2 separate regions of the Homo sapiens genome follow, and region 2 is linked to region 1. Evidence: promoter capture Hi-C in human tissues and cell types (Jung and others, 2019). All regions are on one chromosome and are shown on one strand. Each heading gives the region's core, a stretch centred on a gene start or on the middle of the fragment in contact. The rest is flanking DNA. Distances are from core to core; before and after follow the strand shown. Region 1 holds the start of ITGB7 (integrin subunit beta 7). Region 2 overlaps EIF4B (eukaryotic translation initiation factor 4B).

Evidence for each region. The method cuts DNA at HindIII sites, captures the fragments that hold promoters and counts their contacts. A contact is called where the count stands out against the background at its distance.
Region 2: a contact is called between a fragment that was not itself captured here and the fragment with the promoter of ITGB7 in region 1, in 1 of the 25 tissues and cell types used here (dorsolateral prefrontal cortex).

What each region holds. Positions count from the first base shown.
Region 1 is chr12:53,205,370-53,212,475 of GRCh38, forward strand. ITGB7 (integrin subunit beta 7) reads right to left here and starts at 1,882. Exons shown (of 16, transcript NM_000889.3): 1 at 1,833-1,882. It overlaps RARG (retinoic acid receptor gamma), which reads right to left. Exons shown (of 10, transcript NM_000966.6): 10 at 5,200-6,494. The coding sequence ends at 6,307. RefSeq lists an enhancer at 1-11. The HindIII fragment of the contact is 22,503 bases long and covers 1-7,106 here.
Region 2 is chr12:53,032,289-53,039,493 of GRCh38, forward strand. EIF4B (eukaryotic translation initiation factor 4B) reads left to right here. Exons shown (of 15, transcript NM_001417.7): 9 at 1,518-1,746; 10 at 2,324-2,421; 11 at 5,121-5,334; 12 at 6,068-6,123; 13 at 6,950-7,055. Among named protein-coding and RNA genes, the nearest start is that of TNS2, 14 kb to the right of the region's middle. The HindIII fragment of the contact is 9,298 bases long and covers 1-7,205 here.

The sequences.
Region 1 (7,106 bases), core at 632-3,131:
GCAGAGATGGGGCTTCCCCATGTTGCCCAGGCTGGTCTAGAACTCCTGAGCTCAAGCGACCCACCTGCCTCGGCCTCCCAAATTGCCGTGATTACAGGCGTGAGCCATCACCCCCAGCCAAATGTCATGTATTTATCATTTCACACGTCTGCAACTGAATCTGTAGGATAAATCCCTAGCAGAGGACGTGCAGGATAACTAGATAGGTATCATTTGTAATACTGGTGTGTATTTCATCTACATTCTCATGCTAAGAAATATATATATATAGGTGGGTATTGCCAACATAAACTCTTCAGGACTTGTACTGGTCCACATTCCCATCAGCAATGTATGAGAAAGGCCAACTAACTCCTTGTCATAAACCATTTGCATCTTCTTCAGCCTGGGCCCAGAGTCAGGTCCAGATACTCTGCACAGAGTGTGGGAAAGGGGTGGGGTGTTGAGTCCTTGAATGTCCTGGTCCTGCTCCCCACCACCTGTGACCTCAGGCGCCATATATAACGGAGCCTCCACCCCTCGGGGAGAGGCCAGTCCCAGCTCAGCCTCAGCGTAACCTCAGCCCTGCTTGCTCTGCATGCCTGTGGTCAGGGAGGCTGGAGATGCTGCAACCCAAAGCCGGGTTTTGACTCATCTCTCACAAGTGGAGCCCCGGCTGCCGCATAGGTTTTTCAGAGACCTTAGGCCCACTCATCTCCCCTTAAAGGGGGCCCTGGGACTTCCTGGACAGCCCTTTCCTACCTTTCTTTCCAATTATCCTCTCTTCTCCCCTCCTTGAGAATACATGTTCTGCCACCTATTTCTCTGTCTGCTTCTCTGTCTCTCTCTGGCTCCTTTCATTTCAAAACTTCTATTGCATCTCTCTGCTGCTTTTCTCTGCTCCACTTCTTCATAGGGCTATTTTACTTCCTTTTCCCCTCTGTTCCTAACTATAGAATGGCTGAATCTACTACTCCATCCCACTCTTTTTACAAATGGAAACCTAAATTCCATGAGGCCAGGGTCACCCAGTGAACTAGGGGCAGGGCAGGACAGGGCAGGGCCAGGCCTCTGCTGTGCTTTCTCCTTTCCTCCCTCCAACCCAGGCACTATCTCCATCAAAAGTTGTGTTCTCTCCCCACTAGCCCTGGTGGGCTCTGCCTAATCCCATTTCTCTTTCCTTAGGGGTATTCTGCAGTCTTCCCTTCTCTCTCTGGGACCAAGTGGTTATTTCCATTTTTCTGGACTCCATTCTGACTCCAGTACACACCCTGTGACCCCCCTCAGCAGCTGAGAAACAGAGCCTCTTCCAAACCCATCCCTACCTTCCAAATCAAGCAGAACCCTCTGCTGCCCACTGGGAGTCACAAGGAGGGGACGGAACTGAGCTGCTGGGCCTCAGTGTCCCAGGACAGTGGAGTCTGTGACCAAGGTGCCGATTAGGAAGAAGTCTGAGCTGAAGGCAGAGCATTAGGGATAGCAGCTGGGGGTGATGTTGGAAGAACCCTCCCTCAGTATAATCGGTATACCTGCCCTACTTCGGTATAGTCCTTGGCACATGGCAGGCACTCAGATGACAGCACTCATATACATCCCTGCCTCCAGACCCACTCATGGGAAACTGATGCAGGAGAGATTGGGCTTTTGGAGAGGTGGAGGTGGGGGTACTGTGAAACTGGAGGAGGGAACCAGGTCAGGGGATCTTAGGAATGCAGAAAGGAGTTCAGAGCCTTTCTCAAGTCTGGACAGGACCCTCGGTATCCAGGTCAGAGCCCTCTTCCCAAGAGGTTGGGACCAGGTGGGCCAGAGCTTGTAAGGAGAGGAGGCAGAAGGGCTGGTGCCCTGGTACTCACAGGTGCGTGCAGAGCAGTCCTTCCTCTGGCGGCAGCAGCAGCCTTTGTGTACTGATCTGGGAGACGGCAGAGGAGGAAGTGACACTCCCCAGGGTGGGGAAGATTTGGGGTTGGTGGGGGTGACTGATCTAGAAGGTGGTGCAGATAGGGGTGGGGCTGAGCCAAGGGAGTGGACAATACAGAGATCTGGAAGAAAGAAGCCCATTTATTGAACCCCTGTCATGTGTTGAACGTAACATATTACAATTAACCCTCACAACAATCTCATAAGATAGGGGTTAATATTCCCCCAAGCCCCAATTTTACAGATGCAGAGATTGAGGCTTGGAAGCAGGAAATAAAGAATTTTGCCCAAGGTCCCACAGCTAGTAAGTAGCTAGTCTAGGATTTAAAAAAAAAAAAGAAAAAAGATTTTTATTTTAAATTTTTATTATTTTATTTTTTTTATTTTAATTTAATTTAACTTTTGAGACAGGGTCTTGCTCTGTTTCCCAGGCACAATCTCAGCTCACTGTCCCATGGCACAATCTCAGCTCACTGCAAACTCCGCCTCCCAGGTTCAAGCGATTCTCCTGCCTCAGCCTCCCGAATAGCTGGGATTACAGGGGTGCACTACCATGCCCAGCAACGTTTTATATTCTTAATAGAGACGGGGTTTCACCATGTTGGCCAGGCTGGTCTCAAACTCTTGACCTCAATTGATCTGCCCACCTCGGCCTCCCAAAGTGCTGGGATTACAGGTGTGGGCCACCATGCCCAGCCTGTTTTTTATTTTTGAGACAGGGTCTTGCTGTGTTGCCCAGGCTGGTCTGTAACTCCTGGACTCAAGCAATCCTCCCACTTTGGCCTCCTGAGTAGCTGGGATTACAGGCACACTCGGCTGGTCTGGGATTTAAATCCAGGTCTGCCTGCCTCCAAAATTCATGATCTCTCCATTTACTTATATAGGAAGGAACATGATAGGAGGGAATAGGGGCAGTAAGTACTGTAGAGAGGCCAGAAATTACAGACTTGTTCATTTTGAAAACCCAGGATACATTATATAAGTGTGCTTGACTACATAGGCTCTGGAGCCAAGTTGCTAGAGTTCAAATCCTGGCTCTACTACTTACTAGTAGTAAGGAGCTTAGCTGAGTTACTTAAACCTGCCTGCAGCTGTTTTCTCATCTGTCCAGCAAGACTCACAGGATTGTCGTGAGAATTAAAAGAGATAATTCATATCAATTGCCTACAAGACTACCTGGCACATACTAAGTAAGGGCTTGATAAGAGAATTAGTAGGGATGAGAAGTAGCAGAGGTGAGAAGTGAAGAGGCTTTGAGAAATTCAAGGTCCACACAACTGGAAACTTGGAAGAGAGAGGCATAGGGCCAGGCTCAGAGCATGTGATTGGGGAACCAGGAGCCAACACAGTAGTGGATCCTGGGAAAGGGGTGGAGGAGGTGAACTGGGAGAAGCAGAGAGTGCAGGAACAACAGCTGAAGCCAAGGCAAGGATGAAGCCCGTAGGGAGAGCAGGAAAATATTAATGGGATTTGCTCCTGGCCCATACAGATCACTAAGAGCTTTGAGAGGGAACTAGACATGAGGTCTGTGTTCACAGGTCGATCTCCCCTACCAGAAGGAGCACTCCTTGTAGGCAGGGACTGGCTCTACAAGGCTTCCCTGCTGGAGCCACCACACCTAGCCAAGTGCCCATCTTATAGTAGGTGCTCAATAAATGTCAGATGGATTGCAGAGGTGTAGCTGCTAGGAGGGGACAATTGGAGAGGAGGGGCTCTTTCTCTGGGTGGGCTTGGCTGGCCTCAGGCTATGGGATAGCCAGGACCTATACCCTTCCCCCACAACCAGGGGTTACCACGGCAATGACCCTCCTTCCCCACAGGCCCTGTGGTTTCCTCTAGAGCTTCTTTCACTTTCTTCTTCTGCTTTCCGCCCTCCACTCTTCTCTCCCCTACTCCCACATCCTCAACTTTTTTGTCATAACCACAGGTCACCAATGAAGAGAGCCAGGAACAAGGTAGGCAAGGCACTGTCCCAGGGAAGGTAGGACACGGAGGAGGGGCTTGAGGGGAGTCACAGAGGGCGAAGGGAAGAGTACAGGGTGCAGCAGTAGAGGCCAAAGGCACTGCAAAGGCGTGTTGCAGAGGGAAGGCGTGTGGGAGCAAGGACAGATATTCGGAAAGAAGGTAACAGTGCAGGTGGCAGTGAGTGGAGGTCATGGGGTGAAGAGTGGGAACAGAGAGGGTGGGGGGAGTAAGGTATAAGGTGATAGCAGGGTGGTTGGGGACAGAAGGCCAGAGGGCTCCCTGGGTGAGGGGCTGGTGTAAAACAGTAACACTGTAGCTTAGATGCGGGCTTCTTCTCTTCTGGGGCCAGGAGCCCTCATGAGAACTAAATGAAACTTCAGGGCAGGCATGGTGGCTCACGCCTGTAATCTCAACACTTTGGGAGGCTGAAGTAGGTGGATCACTTGAGGTCAGGAGTTCGAGACCAGCCTAGCCAACATGGTGAAACCCCATCTCTACTAAAAATACAAAAATTAGCTGAGCATGGTGGTGCGCCCCTGTAATCCCAGCTACTTGGGAGGCTGAGGCAGGAGAATCGCTTGAACCCGGGAGGCAGAAGTTGCAGTGAGCCAAGATCACACCACTGCACTCCAGACTGGGCAACAGGAGTGAAATTCCGTCTCAAGAAAAAAAATGAAAAACAAAAAGATAAATAAAACTTCAATGGACTCCTTCCCCAGAGAAAAGCAGATATGCACATATGCATAACTGGAGGTGGAGACAGGCTTACAGACCTCTGAAGTCCATTCATGCCCTCCCAGAGATCCACAGGATCCAACATAAGAACCCACACCAAGCTAGACGCAGTGGCTCACGCCTGTAATCCCAGCACTTTGGGAGTCCAAGGCAGGCGGATCACCTGAGGTCAGGAGTTCGAGACCAGCCTGGCCAACATGGCGAAACCTGTCTCTACTAAAAATAAAAAAAATTAGCTGGGCGTGGTGGTGCACCCCTGTAATTGCAGCTACTCGGGAGGCTGAGGCAAGAGAATTGCTTGAACCTGGGAAGTGGAGGTTACAGTAAGCCGAGATCACACCACTGCACTCCAGCATGGGCGACAGAGTGAGATTCTGAACCCACACCTGGTGGTTGTGGGAAACCCGGTCACTCAGGGTGAGTCCCCATGGGCTCCCTTTCCCCCATCCTGTCCCCACCACAATCCAGGCACACTTCATCCTGTTTTCTTCTACCAAGAAAGCTGCAAAGTCCAATCAATTACAAGCTTTCCCTCCTCACTCAGCTCCCTCACCAGGTCAGCTGGTCATTTCCCTACCACCTCCTAAAGGGAGCCACATCTCATGAGTTTCCATCACTTTATTTTGCAAAAATAGAAAACTCAGCAATATGCGATACAGCGGGGTAGAGGGGAGATGTAAACAGAGGGGAGGGGACAGCACCCTGACCCCCCAAGAGAACACAGGGAGCCAATGGGAATCTTATTTGGCAGCTAAATACAAACTGGGGATTGGAGGAAGAAAGGAGGGGTCACAGGGGCCCTGGGCTCCCCCACCCAAGACCCCTGGAGGAAGGGGTCAATTCCACGGTGTAAACAAAAGCTAATAAATAAATAGAGGCTTCCTCTGGGTCAGGGCGGGATCAGCTAAGCAGCATCCCCCCTCCCTGGGCCAAGCTGCTCTGGGGAGTAAAGGGTGGAAGGCACTAGGGAGAGAGGGATCCCCTGGCCCCTCTGTAGTGTAGGAGGGTCCCTGCCCCAATGGCTGAGATGGAGGGCAGGAGGAGCCCAAGGCACATGACAGGGCTGGGGGAGGGACTTATAACGGAGGGCACAGGGTGAACTCTGCACCCGAGCCAAGAGGTGCAGAATGGACCTGCATCTATCTGTCCCTTTCACCCTCTGTTCCTGCCCCAGAAATGCAGGGCCCAGCCTGCCCCCACCTTGACCTGGCACAAGGACGGGGCACAGAGGCTAGCACACACCCTGCAGGTGCATCACACAGCATTAGGCACCAAGGGTAGGAGCAAGAAGGTGGGCTCAGCCCTTCTCCTTTGTCCCCTTTTTGGTCTCTAGTGTTCCTGTTTGCTCTCAGAGAGCCAAGCACCTGGCAGAGGAAGGGGCTGTGGAATGGCAGGGTCTTCCTCTTGCCCTGGGAAGTCTAGGACCCATGGGGCAGTGCTGAGATTTTAGAGTCCAAACCCAGGCTCATCCCTTTGCCCTCTCTCCTGGTGGGAGCAGGGCAGGCCCCCGGGACTGGCGAGGGAGCCGGTTAGATCAGGAAGGGGATGAACACAGAGGCACCCCTAGAAACTTTGGCAAAAACAAGGAGCTCATTGGAAGGGGTGGGGAGAGGGCAGAGCAGGTCCTCCCCCAGTCACTGGCGGTCTGGGAGATGGTCAGTCTGCTGCCTGAAGCCCCAACCCCCACAGCGGGGAGGTCAGGGGCCCTGGTCAGGCTGGGGACTTCAGGCCCCCTTTGCCCTGGCCCCCAGGAACCTCATCCTCGCTAGAGGCATTGGGGTGGGGACCAGGCTGCGAGGAGTCATCCTCAAACATTTCAGGGTTCTCCAGCATCTCTCGGATTAAGGGAGGCATCGGGCCTGGAATCTCCATCTTCAGAGTAATGGCCCTTTCAGCTCCTACAATGGAGAGAGAAAGAGAGAGGCTCAGGAGGACAGAGGCACATGGCCCTTAAGGCCATCTCCCTAACCTTTCTCAACTGCCCCTGACTCCCCTAGGGGGCGCCCAGCACAGGCCCACCACCTCTCCGTCCCCAGCTCATCCTCTTCTCACTAGGCTTCCTGGGTGCCACTCCTCTGCCTGGAACCTCTACCTGGCCTTCTCTACCAGGCTTGCTGCCCATTCATCCCATTCTTTCAGGCTGTCTCTTCAGCGAGCGCAATGCACACAACTTCCAACCCCACTCCCCAAGTACCCCACTCTCGAATGTCCAGAGCTTGTCACTTGTTCCTAGTCCTGTTCTCTTAATAACATTTATTACCACAGCTAATATTTATCAAACACTATGTTCCAGACATCCTTCTAAGCCTGGACTGTCCAATAGAACTTTGCAATGATAGGAATACAGTAGTCATTGGCCACATGTGGCAATCTGAAATGTGACTACTGCAACTGCAGAATGGAATTTTTAATTCAGCACAATTCTAAGTACACTGTATATGTTACAGGTTTTTTTTGTTGTGTTGTTGTTGTTGTTGTTGTTTTAGAGGCAGGGTCTTGCTGGGTTACCC
Region 2 (7,205 bases), core at 3,022-5,521, 170 kb before region 1:
AAAATTAGTTGGGCATGGTGCCACGTGCCTATACTCCCAGCTACTGAGGAAGCTGAGGCAGGAAAATCAGGGAGGCAGAGGTTGCAGTGAGTTGAGATCACACCACTGCCCTCCAGCCTGGGTGACAGAGCGAGACTGTCTCAAAAAAAATAAAGAACTAGAATCTTCCCTATCATATTGTATTAGTTCTTAACATGCAGATTTCGGAGCAAGATACTTTCATCCAGTAGTTTAATGATGGTCAAAAATTTCTTCCCATATAAAAGAAGTCTTGATAGATTATTAATTTATTACTTAAATGTTTACCATTTTTAGTCTTTCCTGTGGTCTTGTACTACATCATGGATGTGGTAGAAGAGTAATTGAACTTGGGTTTTTTTGTTTTTTTTTTTTTTTGAGATGGAGTTTGGCACTTGTTGCCCAGTTTGGAGTGCAGTGGTGTGTTCTCAGCTCACTGCAACCTCCGCCTCCCCGGTGGGTTCAAGCGATTCTCCTGCCTCAGTCTCCTGAGTAGCTGGGACTACAGGCATGTGCCACCACTCCTGGCTAATTTTGTATTTTTAGTAGAGATGGGGTTTCTCCATATTGGTCAGGCTGGTCTCGAACTCCTGATCTCAGGTGATCCGCCCGCCTCAGCCCCCCAAAGTGCTGGGATTACAGGCGTGAGCCATTGCGCCCGGCCAGAACTTGGTTATTTATGCCACCTATTTTTATTTTTATTTATTTTTATTTATTTATTTTAGGCGTAGTTTTGCTTTTGTTTTCCAGCCTGGAGGGCTGGAGTGCAGTGGTGCGATCCTGGCTCACCACAACCTCTGCCTCCCAGGTTCAAGCGATTCTCCTGCCTCAGCCTCCCGAGTAGCTGGGATTATAGGCATGCACCACCATGCCTGGCTAATTTTTTATTTTTACTAGAGACGGGGTTTCTCCATGTTGGTTGTGTTGGTCTCGAACTCCCGACCCCAGGTGATCCACCCGCCTCGGCCTCCCAAAGTATCGGGATTACAGACGTGAGCCACCACGCCCAGCCTGAGCTACCTATTTTCTTTTTTTTTTTTCTTTTTTTTATTTTTGAGACGGAGCCTTGCTCTGTCACCAGGCTGAAGTGCAGTAGCTCGATCTTGGCTCACTGCAACCTCTGCCTCCCAGGTTCAAGCAATTCTCTTGCCTCAGCCTCCTGAGTAGCTGGGACTACAGGTGCGCGCCCCAACGCCCAGCTAATTTTTGTATTTTTAGTAGAGACGGGGTTTCACCATGTTGTCCAGGATAGTCTCGATCTCTTGGCCTTGTGATCCACCCGCCTCGGCCTCCCAAAGTGCTGGGATTACAGGCGTGAGCCACCATGCCCAGCCTAAACTACCTGTTTTCTAATGATCTATTTGCCTTCTGTGGATTGGTTAGGCCACTAACTTGAATCTCATGTAGCATTTCATAGGAGTTATATCTGAGAAATCTGGCTTTCAGCCATCAGCTTCTGGTGATTGGAAAACTATTACTTAAAGTTTCATTTAACTTAGGTCCCCCCCAAAGACCCAAACTGAATCTAAAGCCTCGGAGTACTCCTAAGGAAGATGATTCCTCTGCTAGTACCTCCCAGTCCACTCGAGCTGCTTCTATCTTTGGAGGGGCAAAGCCTGTTGACACAGCTGCTAGAGAAAGAGAAGTAGAAGAACGGCTACAGAAGGAACAAGAGAAGTTGCAGCGTCAGCTGGATGAGCCAAAACTAGAACGACGGCCTCGGGAGAGGTGTGTTGTCTTGATGGATATCCCATCTAGGAATCCGGTGGTTCGTAATGGGGGCATTACATCCCCAGGGGCATTTGGGAAATTTGTGTCGTTATCACATTAGTGGTTGTCACTGATGGGCATTTAGTGGGCTGTGGCCAGGGGTGTTAGGCAGTATGCAGTGTTAGGGACAGTTTTACACAATGAAGAGTTGTTCCCTGTCCATTACAAAAGTGTTTACTATTAAAAGCTGGTATTGTATCTAAAAGGCTAGAGACCTACTATAATAAGTAATTGCCCTGAAAAACTAGGCCTGGTAATGAGTGGCTTGTAGAACTGTGTTGATTAGTAAAGAAGGGCAGTATTGTAGATTATGTAGGATACTGTTCTTAACCATATTAGTTGATTCTTGCTGAAGTATTTAGGGCCAAAGTGTGTCTTAATGTCTGTAGCTTTCAAATAGTTTGAGGGAAAGATAAATTTATATGCATATACACATATAGATGAAGTAAGTGATGGTTCTTGAGGGGTCAGCATGGGTCTAAGGTGGCCTTCACTGAGCCAGGCATAATGTGTATTTTGTGAATCTCTCGTACAGACACCCAAGCTGGCGAAGTGAAGAAACTCAGGAACGGGAACGGTCGAGGACAGGAAGTGAGTCATCACAAACTGGGACCTCCACCACATCTAGCAGAAGTAAGTCAGACCAGGGTGGGTATCGTGTTATTGCCGTTTTCCATAAACTATCCATAACCAAATTATGCAGAGACCCTGCAATATTTAAATTCAGTCATGAACTCTTTATTTGGGTTGCATGGGCCGATTGGAGTTTCATATCTTCTGCTCCAAAGAATCTGAGGAATGGGTACCAGAGTAGACCTAGATGATCTGCTTAATAATCTACCACTGAAGTGTATACTTGGTTGTTAGGTTTGTCTCTCTCTTTTTTTTTTTTTTTTTTTTTTGGTATATTTTCATTTTATGTCTTGACATCTTTGAATGTTGTTTATTCAGAACAGTCAACGGCTTGGAGTTTCATGTGAGCTGTCCCAAGACCAGCCTTTTTTGATGTTATCATCACCAGAGCAGTGTTCTCAAGCAGTGTTATTACTGGTTGATCAAGCACTTTTAGTGTTTTGGAAACCTAAATGGTTCAATTGTAATACCTCCCTTCCCTTACCATGATGTGTTTTTTTTGTATTTTGTTTTGAGACAGGGTCTTACTCTGTCACACAGGCTGGAGTGCAGTGGCATGATGATGGCTCACTGTAGCCTCACCTCCCTCAGCCCTCAGCCTCCCTAGTAGCTGGAACTGTAGGCATGCACCACTACACCCAGCTAAATTTTTTATTTATTTATTTTCTTTTTTTTTTGAGACCGAGTCTCGCTCTGTCGCCCAGGCTGGAGTGCAGTGGCGCGATCTCGGCTTACTGCAAGTTCTGCCTCCCGGGTTCATGCCATTCTCCTGCCTCAGCCTCCCGAGTAGCTGGGACTACAGGTGCCCACCACCACACCCAGCTAATTTTTTGTATTTTTAGTAGAGATGGGGTTTCACTGTGTTAGCCAGGATGGTCTCAATCTCCTGACCTCATGATCCACCCGACTCGGCCTCCCAAAGTACTGGGATTACAGGCGTCAGCCACCGCACCCAGCCTACACCCAGCTAAAATTTTGTAGAGATGGTTTCCCCATGTTGCCCAGGCTGGTCTCAGCCTCATAAAGTGCTGGGATTCCAAGGGCCAGCCACTGTGATATTTTTTAAGGTCTTTCCTCCCACCTCTAAATTGATTTGTACTTGCATTTCATTCATTTATTTATTTATTGAGATGGAGTCTCGCTCTGTTACCAGGCTGGAGTGCAGTGGCACGATTTTGGCTCACTGCAACCTCTGACTCCCTGGTTCAAGCAATTCTCCTGCCTCAGCCTCCTGAGTAGATGGGATTACAGGTGAGCGCCACCATGCCCGACTAATTTTTTGAACGGGCTGGTCTCAAACTCCTAACCTCATGATCCACCCGTCTCGGCCTCCCAAAGTGCTGGGATTACAGACGTGAGCCACCATGCCTGGCCTTCTATTTTTTTTATTTTTTATTTTTGTATTTTATTTATTTATTTTGAGACGGAGTTTCGCTCTTTTTGCCCAGGCTGGAGTGCAATGGCATGATCTCAGCACACTGCAACCTCTGCCTCCCGGGTTCAAGTGATTCTCCTGCCCAAGCCTCCCGAGTAGCTGGGATTACAGGAGTCTGCCACCAGGCCTGGCTAATTTTTTGTATTTTTAGTAAAGACGGGGTTTCACCATGTTGGCCAGGATTGTCTCCATCTCTTGATCTTGTGATCTGCCCGCCCTGGCCTCCCAAAGTGCTGGGATTACGGGCGTGAGCCGCCGTGCCCGGCCTAGTTTTTTATTTTTAAGACAGGGTTTCATTCTCACCCAGGCTGGAGTGCAGTGGTGCGATCATAGCTCACTGCAGCCTCAAACTCCTGGCCTCAAGCAATCCTCTTGCCCCAATATCCCAAGTAGCTGTTATACGACGGGTGCACGCAACCATGCCTGGCTAAATTTAAAAAATTTGTTTTTTTAGAGATGGGGTCTCACTACACTCCCCAGGCTGGTCTCAAACTCCTGGCCTCAAGCAATCCTGCCTCAGCCTCCCAATGGGGGCTCCTTGTTTTTAGAAGACACTTAACTGCATTTTTTAAAAAACGCACGTGTAGGTTGTTGTTTTTTGAGATGGAGTCTCACTCTGTCAGCCAGGCTGGAGTGCAGCAACATGATCACAGCTCACCTCATCATTTCTAGTAGCTGGGACTGCAGGCACATGCCACATCCAGCTAATTTGTCTATTTTTTGTAGAGCTGGGGTTTCACCATGTTGTCCAGGCTGGTCTGAAACTCTTAGGCTCAAACGATCCGCCCCCAACAGCCTCCCAATATCCTAAGATTACAGGCGAGAGCCACTGCACCCAGCCAGTAGGTGGTTTTTCATAAATATGATTGCATCATAGTCCATGTGTGTTGAGTTTTAAGCTGAAGTTGAGCAGTGGTTACTAGAGTTTGGGGTTTCATTGTAGGTCCTCTTCACATATGTATATTCTCCAGGTCAAGACACTTTTAACATTGAGAATGCAGAAAGGCTGTAAAGGATACTCATTCCTAAAAAGGTCACATGGCTGGGTGTCCCTTAAGTTGTATACATGGTCATTATTTTTTCTATTTCTCTGTGCATCAGTAAGACATTGTTCTGGAAATACTTGTAAACCACTGGTTTAGGGATAAATCCATCTTTGGGAGCCAAAACTTGGATGTGGACCATTTTCCACACTGTTGAGATCCTGGTAGATGCGTGAGCATCTGCAGCCTGATAATTTGATATTTTCACTCTGGCTTCACAGATGCACGAAGGAGAGAGAGTGAGAAGTCTCTAGAAAATGAAACACTCAATAAGGAGGAAGATTGCCACTCTCCAACTTCTAAACCTCCCAAACCTGATCAGCCCCTAAAGGTAATGCCAGCCCCTCCACCAAAGGAGAATGCTTGGGTGAAGCGAAGTTCTAACCCTCCTGCTCGATCTCAGAGCTCAGACACAGAGCAGCAGTCCCCTACAAGGTGAGTCAGTTTGGAAACAGTAGTTGGTTAACTGCAGATTCTAAAATACTGTGATGTAATGATGGAAGATCTCCTACGGGATGCCAGCGTTGTATAGCACCTTATAAGTTATGCTGGCTTTAGTCTCTTAGTGTGCTGGAACTGGCTCATAAGACCTAGTTGTTCCATTTTCTGGAGTTCCACCACTTTGATAGCTTGAAATCAGCTATGATGGGAGTACTAATGCCGCACAAATCTGCAAATACTGTAAGTCAGAGGCTTCCCTTTTGCCACATATTGGCAGTATGGTAGGGGGTAACTTCCTTTCATTTCTCTTAAGTCTTCTCATTTGTAAGCAAAATAGCAACACTATTAGCCTGGCGTGGTGGCAGGTACCTGTAATCCCAGCTACTCGGGAGGCTGAGGCAGGAGAATTGCTTGAACCTGAGAGCGGAGGTTGCAGTGAGCCGAGATGTGCCATTGCACTCCAGCCTGGGCGACAGAGTTAAGACTCCAAAAGAAAAGAAAATAGCAATACTAATCCTGCATGATGTGATGATTAGAAAGCATATGGCACTTTAGTGTTCAAATTACTGCTTTCATTGTAATCTTTCCCATATTTTAATGTTCCATAACATTGAGTATGATTTTGTTTTCTATAAAGCTTACCCACTGCATTTGGAGGATGATTATGTTTCTTGGTTGTTTTCTCCCTGAAACAACTGATGAATGTGATTACCTGTTTTCCTTCTAGTGGTGGGGGAAAAGTAGCTCCAGCTCAACCATCTGAGGAAGGACCAGGAAGGAAAGGTGAGCTCATAGTATGGGAAATAGGTTTTTCACCTAGAAGCCTAAATAAAAAGGCCTCCAAAATTAGATTTTGAAGAGCAGTGTGTCTCGCACCTGATACCGTGTTAAGAGTTCTTGGGTTGGCCAGGCGCAGGGGCTCACACCTGTAATCCCAGCACTTTGGGAGGCCAAGGCGGGCAGATCACAGGGCAGGAGTTTGAGACCAGCCTTACCAACATGGTGAAACCCCGTCTCTATTAAAAATACAAAAAAAATTAGCCGGGTGTGGTGGCACATGCCTGTAATCCCAGCTACTCGGGAGACGCTGAGGCAGGAGAATTGCTTGAACCCGGGAGACGGAGGTTGCAGTAAGCCAAGATGGCCCCACTGCACTCCAGCCTGGGCGACAGAGCAAGACTCTGTCTCAAAAAAAAAAGAATTATTGGGTTATCTACCTTTTCTTGCCAGTAGAGGGAGGAGTGGCCTCTTTGGAGAAAGTATGAAACCCTGCCCTTTCCTGGTAGAACATTTCTTTGACGGGGAGAAAAAAATCGGAAGGAAATTAACCAAGGTCACTACAGAGCGTCATAATCTTTATTTCCAGCTTGCTTTTCATGATGGCATATCCCTACATGGAACTTTTTAGTGGATTTTGTTTGTTTTTTGTATTTTTGTGTGCTGTAGAGGATGTGGAAAGAAGGGCTTCAGGAAGGAAGTCTGGGTTGGGGTGAGGTTAGTTTCCCTCAGTACATGTGGGCACAATTTTCTTCAGCTTAAGGGAAATCTTAGGAGAGGGACATTGATACTTTTACTTGCCTTTAATTTGTTTACATTACTGCCCAAGCAGATGAAAATAAAGTAGATGGGATGAATGCCCCAAAAGGCCAAACTGGGAACTCTAGCCGTGGTCCAGGCGACGGAGGGAACAGAGACCACTGGAAGGAGTCAGATAGGTATGCTTGTTCTCTTTCTCATCTTTCCTCTGATCCACATGTTTGTGTAATTAAGAAATTAAGTTCTTGGTTCTCAGAGCACTGCCAGATCGCTCATTGTGAGCAAACTAAAGTCAGCCAACGTAGACAGTTAAGATTCTGAAAATCTAG